Linked DNA regions of Homo sapiens: region 2 is linked to region 1. Evidence: promoter capture Hi-C in human tissues and cell types (Jung and others, 2019). All regions are on one chromosome and are shown on one strand. The core of a region is centred on a gene start or on the middle of the fragment in contact, and the rest is flanking DNA. Distances in the headings are between cores, read along the strand shown. Region 1 holds the start of CHRNA1 (cholinergic receptor nicotinic alpha 1 subunit). Region 2 overlaps ATF2 (activating transcription factor 2).

Region 1 (3,422 bases), core at 535-3,034:
CTAACTTTGGGTTTACCAGCCTCTATTCTGGGAGCTACAGGCTCAGTAGACACATTGTTCACCAAGTAATTGAGGACAACAGTTTATGAAATGATTTGATACCATATAACATGGGTCTTCATATTTTCAGCCTCCAGTATCAATTTTCTTGCCTTCTGCTGCAGTGCTACATATTTTAGAATTTATTTTTAACCTCAGGATACTAGTGCAAAGGATTACATATTTTATTAATTACGGAACACTAGCTGCTGTACAAATAAACCCAAGGATTTTGATGGCTCAGCACGATGCATGTTTTGTTTTCATTGAAATAGTGCTGGGTGGTGAGCAGGTGGATAGGGGGTCCCCCTCCATGCAGTCATTCAAGGATTCAGAATGTCAAAAGCAACACCACCTTCAGAACATGGTTTCTAAGGTTAACTTTGGGACCATGTCCATTCTAGCCGGTCAGAAGACTAGAAGGGCGGGGCTGAGCTCTGGTAGGTTTGTGAGTCTGAGAACATTTTTCCACTCATGCCACTGGCCAGAGGTCAGTCCCATGGCTCCATTTAGATGGAAGGGGCTGGTCAGAGGGTGGGGGTTGTATTTCTGCCACGGGGCTATTCCATGGAAGGGAGAGAACCAAATTTTTTTTTAGCAAACAGTTAACTGATCTCCCACAGTTTAAACAAAAAATATAAATAGTATGAGCTTGCAGCTCTCTCCTCTACCCTCCAAGCCCCTTCTCTAATGATTTGTTTGGATCCACTGGAATGAGAGGATCTGTCAGGATGTTGTTGTGGGCTTGAGGTGAGAGGACCTTTCTCACCTAGTTCCATGTGGGAAGGAGGCCTGGAAGGAACAGGCAGGGTACCTTTAAGTAACTGTCTCCTTCTGGGAACTCACCTCACACCCTGCAAAGAAGCACAGCTAGGGTAACAATACTTCTCAGACTGAGAAATTACTAACTGCTGGTTTTTAGGATGTTTTTCAAGCAAGATAATTGAAAAGCTGAACCACTCTGCTCTTTGCTTCCCTGAGTGAGAGTAGGCAGAGGGACGGATGGAAGGAGGCAGGAACCCGGAACGACTGCTGATGCGGTGGGACACTTTTTCCCAATAATTACTCTTCGCTTGAATCACAGTGCATAGGACGTGGGCAATTTGCTCCAGCTAATGGTTCGTGTGGGATAGGTATTGCCTGATACAGAGGCAGGGGTTGGAACAGCCACTCTGGGGGCCAGTAAAGCCAGTTTTATGGAAGAAGCTGTCTTTGTTAAAAACCAAACCCAATCAACGTGGGGGCTTCCCAGCAGCAGACTCAACACCAGCTACACTTTTCTGAAATCCAGGCAGTCAGAAAAGCCCCCGGCACCCTCAGCCTAACACTGAAGCAGAGGAAATGAAACTGAAGCCATGTTTGCAGAATGTGGATTTTTGTGGTTTAGGACAAACAGCTGACTATCTACTCAGACCAAATGACCCTAATCAAGTCAACCCACAGAGATGAGGTTCTGGTTTACACAAAAGAGAGGCAGTTTGCTCACCATTTAAAATAATTCCTTCCTTCCTATACATTTTTTTTTCATTAAGATCTGACTACTGGTGCATTTAAAATATAATGCAGTTCATACTCAGCTTGTCAAGGGTAAGCAATTGTGTAAAGTGAGGCATATCTGTAATGGTGTACAGTCCCAGTAACTCCCTGGGCTCCAGGGCTGAGGGCAGCCCAGCTGTCGCTCCCACAAACAGGTGGTGTAAAACAATAGCTCTAGTGAGCCGACTCGCTTTCCAAACCCTCCAGCAGACAAGCACCCAGCCAGAGTGCCAGTGAGAAGCACAGGCCACCACTCTGCCCTGGTCCACACAAGCTCCGGTAGCCCATGGAGCCCTGGCCTCTCCTCCTGCTCTTTAGCCTTTGCTCAGGTAAGTGCTGGGGTCAGGGGTGGGGAGAGGGCTCTCCTTTGAGGCTAAAGTGCTGGAGGCCCCCAAATCAAAGTCTTGCTTCTTTGATGAGACCACAGAATGGCAGAGCCTCCCCAACCAGGGGCTGCTCTGTCAGTTTCTTCCTGATGTTAGCTTGATTGAGTTTTTGGATAAAGATTTTTAGTTTGCCTTATCTAATTAAAATAGAAACTGCCTGGTCAAAGACTTCAAGATAGACACGCATGTCTCTCCCTCCATCATGCCTGGCAGCCGACTCATCCCTCTGAACACTCGGCACCATTTGTAGGACCTGGACCACTTGTGGATCATGGTAGTGTCCGGGGGTTCATATTTAAACAACTATGGATACTTAGAACAGTGCCTTATAATCACATACAATGGAGTTAACAAGTCCCTTTACTGCTCCAGGAGAATTCTAATAATAAAGAGGACTGATTGACAGCTACATGTGCTGGAGATAGAAACCAGTTAATAATCATAACTAAACTCTCTCCACAGAGACAAATATTTTTTAATTTTTTCAAAATTTCTGAAGTTAAAAAAAATTCCATATGAATACATTCCTACCTACTTTTTTTTTTTAAGATGTTACTATATATAGGTTTGGGTTTGAATTGAAACTATAAAACCTTGCACAGCATTTGACCTGCATTCTACTCTGGAATGTGTCCTAACACAGCAGCTGAAACACCATCCTGAATCCCAGACTTCCGCTAGAGGGAAACAGGAGATGTTTGCTGATTGCTTCACATAAAAGTTTACTGGTGATATCATCCCAACTGAGAAACAAGGTGGCTGACATCCTGTGATTTTTCATTTCCAATATTGCTCTGAAAAACACAGGCCTTCTGGTCAAGAGGCAAAAAGCTTTATTATTAATTTTTTTCAATATCAGAGTTGAGTGAAAGAGCCTAAACTCAGATAAATTATATCATGTGGGATTTGGACTCTGTCCAGCCAAAGCTGGCCTGATGTGTGTGTGTGTGTGTGTGTGTGTGTGCGCGCGCGTGCACACACATGCGTGCACGCAAAACCACAGTCACAGGAAAATTCTTAAATGATATGCTTTAATGTAAACATCCTTAAGAGATCTCTTAGGATTTTGGTTATTGCTAACCAAAAATGCATGATTAGCTATTAAAGAAGTATGTGATATGTATTTAGGTCAAATCTCGAGTTTGCTGGCATTGATTTCCATGGGTGTTTTATAGAAATTTAGAGCTAGATCAGGCAGTCCAACATCCTCAATTTTTTATTACAAGGAAACTAAAGCTGACCTGCCCAAGGTCACTTAATTTATACATTTTGGAATGTGGTCAGTTGGAGACTTGGTTTATTACATGCACAGTCAGAAAACACAGCCTGAACTAGCCAAAGGTAGCAAGAGATACAGAATCAGGTTAAGATAATAATGATCCATGGGACTAGTAACAGTTCAAAATTTCTTTTGCCCAGCCCAGGGAGCTATTTCCTACATACAAATACAAATGGAACCAG
Region 2 (3,491 bases), core at 818-3,317, 390 kb before region 1:
CACAGTTCTAAAGTTGTTTTGAAGTCTCTGCTAATTATACAATTATAACTACACTATCAATTTTTGGCCACAAAGTTGAGAATCAGTGAAATATTTTATCATTTGTAAGGTAGGTTTTAATGATTGTTGATATATGGATGTTGGGTCGAGGGATATTTTTTGTAGTAATACACTTTACTTACTTGAATTTTGACATACTTTGAAAACGGAAGAAAGAGGTGAGCTTATCATTGTTTTAATGGGCATAGTACATAATCCATAGTCTTACTTTATTTCATTTTTAGAGACAGGGTCTCTATCACCCAGGCTGGAGTGTGGTGGTGCAGTCGTAGTTCACTGCTGCCTCAAACACCTGGGCTTCAGCAATCCTCCCACCTCAGCCTCCCGAGTAGCTGGGACTACAGGCATGTGCTACTATACCCAGCTAATTTTTTAATTTTTTGTAGAGATGGAGTCTCACTATGTTACCCAGGTTGGTCTTGAATTCTTGGCCTCAAGTAATCCTCCCATCTCAGCTTCACAAAGCGCTGGGGTTACAGGCGTGAGCCACCACACCAAGCCGGTAGTGTATTTTATTTGTGCCCTCTTCATAATGAGAAATTTTTATTGATGTATTTTTCATAATGGTGATGACTATGAATTACTGTAATTCTTGGAGAACTGAATTTCTATTTCTATTTTCTTTTTGCTTTTACAAAAAATAAGTTTCTCAGGAGAAAAAAAGCAATGAAAGGTATTTTATCACCTACCTTGGGCAAAAATAATGCTATGGACCTTAGACCACATAATTCTGTTACCAAATCTAAGGTGATGTTATTAGCACAACTTGTGCTACTGTTGTTTATATTCATAATTATTACTCTGTAAATTTTTTGTATTTATGTATTTGTTATTCTATTATAATTTTAAACTATAAAACTACTTGCTTTCTTTACATTGCCTAGGAATAATCAAGACTCACTTAAAAAATATTTAATTTAAAAATTGGACTACTGATATTTTAATTGAATATTTTTGAGATATTGAACTGATTTCACTCTTCACATACTCATAATACAGTCTGGAGAAGTTTGTGATACTTTTTACGTGTACCATCAACTTTGAGAAATTTCATCAAAATTTTAGTATACTCTTGGGAATTGTGTGAAGGACCTCTCTCATGTCTGCTGTGAGTGGGGGAAAAAATACTGCTGCTTTCCTTGTTAACATTGGGCTTAATATTTTTCTCTCAGCTGATGAATTTGAGTTACCTAAATTGATGAACTAAACATTATATATCAAATAAACTTACAGATAGCATCAGAATCATGGGTTAAAGATTAATATAAAACTTTTTTTTTTTTTTGAGACGGAGTCTTGCTCTGTCGCGCAGGCTGGAGTACAGTGGTAGGTTCTCAGCTCACTGAACCCTCCACCTCCCAGGCTCAAGCAGTTCTCATGCCTCAGCCTTTTGAGCAGCTGGAACTATAGTCTCCGCCACCACGCCCCGCTGATTTTTTTGTATTTTTAGTAGAGACGGGGTTTCTCCATGATGACCAGGCTGGTCTTGAACTCCTGACCTCAAGCAGTCTGCCTACCTTGGCCTCCCAAAGTGCTGGGATTACAGGGTTGAGCTATCATGCCTGGCCAAAACTCTTATCTAAAAGTCAAACTGAGTATGTAGTTCAGTTTCTGGCCTTAAAAATAAAGAAGATAGTAAGATTAGGTATTTATTAGGCATTAGAAAAATGTACATTTAAAGTCAAAGTAAAATGCAGTAAAATTTATGAACTTAATAAATACTATTTTAGTGTCATGCACTATTCTGTGTATTTTACATATGTTACTTTTATATATTTTGATAGCCCTGAAATGTATTTTTTTTTTTACTGTAGAGGATCATAGTGTAATCATACAATTTAAAATTTTCCTGGCCAGGGGCAGTGGCTCACACCTACAATCCCAGCACTTTGGGAGGCTAATACAGGAGGATCATTGCCTTGATTAATGGAGGCTTTAAGTCACTCTTATTTTAAATTATCCATTTAAAATATCCACTTGGGTTCCTGTAGAGATGACCTCAGTTTCCAGTGTTCCCCCCAGACGTTTGCTTCTTGCCGTAGGATCAGGAAGCTTTAAGGCACTCTTATTTTAAATTATCCATTTAAAATATCCATTTTAAGTTATCCATTTTAAAATTATCCCTGGATAATTTAAAATAAGAGTTTGAGCTCAAGGAATTCAAGACCAGCCTGGGCAACATCGTGAGACCGGTCACTCCAAAAAAAATTTAGCTGGGTGTGGTGGCATGTGTACCTGTGGTTCCGCCTACTGAGGAGGTTGAGGTGGGAGGATCACTTGAGCCCAGGAGATCCAGGTTGCAGTGAGCCATGGTTGGGCCACTGTACTTACAGAGCAAGACCCTGTCTCAAAAAAAAAAAAAAAAAAAATCCTGAATTCAAAATACTTTAGTCTTGAGAGGCAAGTGAAGTCCTACTAGGTCGTGGCTGCAGGTTTTCAAACTCCTTGATTTAGGTTTGTTATTATGACCACTTTGCTATTCCCAAGGTGATCTCTAGGATCATTTCAGGAATGTATGAAGATAGTCATGAATGTACTGAGTGTTCGTATCCTGCTTCAGTTCACCTTGGCTGTGCCTACATGATGACAGATATTGGTGTTTTTTTTTTTTTGAGACAGAGTCTCACTCTGTCACCCAGCCTGGAGTGCAGTAGCGCGATCTCGGCTCACTGCAACCTCTGCCTCCCGGGTTCAAGCAGTTCTCTGCGTTAGCCTTCTGAGTAGCTGGGATTACAGGCACCTGCCACTACGCTCAGCTAATTTTTGTATTTTTAGTAGAGAAAGGGTTTCACCATCTTGGCCAGGCTGGTCTTAAACTCCTGATCTCGTGATCCACCCACCTTGGCCTCCCAAAGTGCTGGGATTACAGGCATGAGCCACTGTGCCCAGCCCATGATAACAGATGTTTGAAAGGGAATAAAGTCGTGTCTAGTGTCATTGTGCTAGCGTGCCCCTCCCCCTTCAGTGTTGGCCCCAGATCTTCCCTTTATTTTTTTATGTTTGTGGGAAAGGGGCCACATCAGCAGCAATCATCAACCAATCAATAGGATCTACTTAGTGGTGAACATATTGGCTGTTTAATTGGTAAGAGTCGCTGGCCTGACCACACCACAGCATGGCCACTTGGGTTCCTGTAGAGATGGCCTCAGTTTCCAATGTTCCTCCCAGACGTTTGCTTCTTGCCCAATCGAGAGGGGATCTCAAGACTCCTGATTGGTCATTGTGAGCTCTCACCCTGCGTGGCTGTGTAGATAGACTGCATAGATACATGAAGTGGGGATGGGGGCCAAGGTCCTATTACTGCTGTTTGGAAATAACTTGCCTCTTACAGATCCAGCCTTATTGTTTTTCTGACATCCTAGTAATGGCAGATCCTGCACAAAGTGGATTTCAGAGTTAATACTGTGAGGAGACAAAATAATGAGAATAGT

What was found. Contacts are between HindIII fragments. The study calls those that stand out against the background at their distance.
Region 2: a fragment that was not itself captured here is called in contact with the fragment with the promoter of CHRNA1 in region 1 in 1 of the 25 tissues and cell types used here (pancreas).

The regions. Positions count from the first base shown.
Region 1 is chr2:174,762,834-174,766,255 of GRCh38, reverse strand. It overlaps CHRNA1 (cholinergic receptor nicotinic alpha 1 subunit), which reads left to right and starts at 1,784. Exons shown (of 9, transcript NM_000079.4): 1 at 1,784-1,904. The coding sequence starts at 1,862. RefSeq lists an enhancer at 1,284-1,783. The HindIII fragment of the contact is 8,948 bases long and covers 1-3,422 here.
Region 2 is chr2:175,157,173-175,160,663 of GRCh38, reverse strand. The region is part of intron 1 of ATF2 (activating transcription factor 2); the gene reads left to right. Among named protein-coding and RNA genes, the nearest start is that of MIR933, 8.8 kb to the left of the region's middle. The HindIII fragment of the contact is 7,995 bases long and covers 1-3,491 here.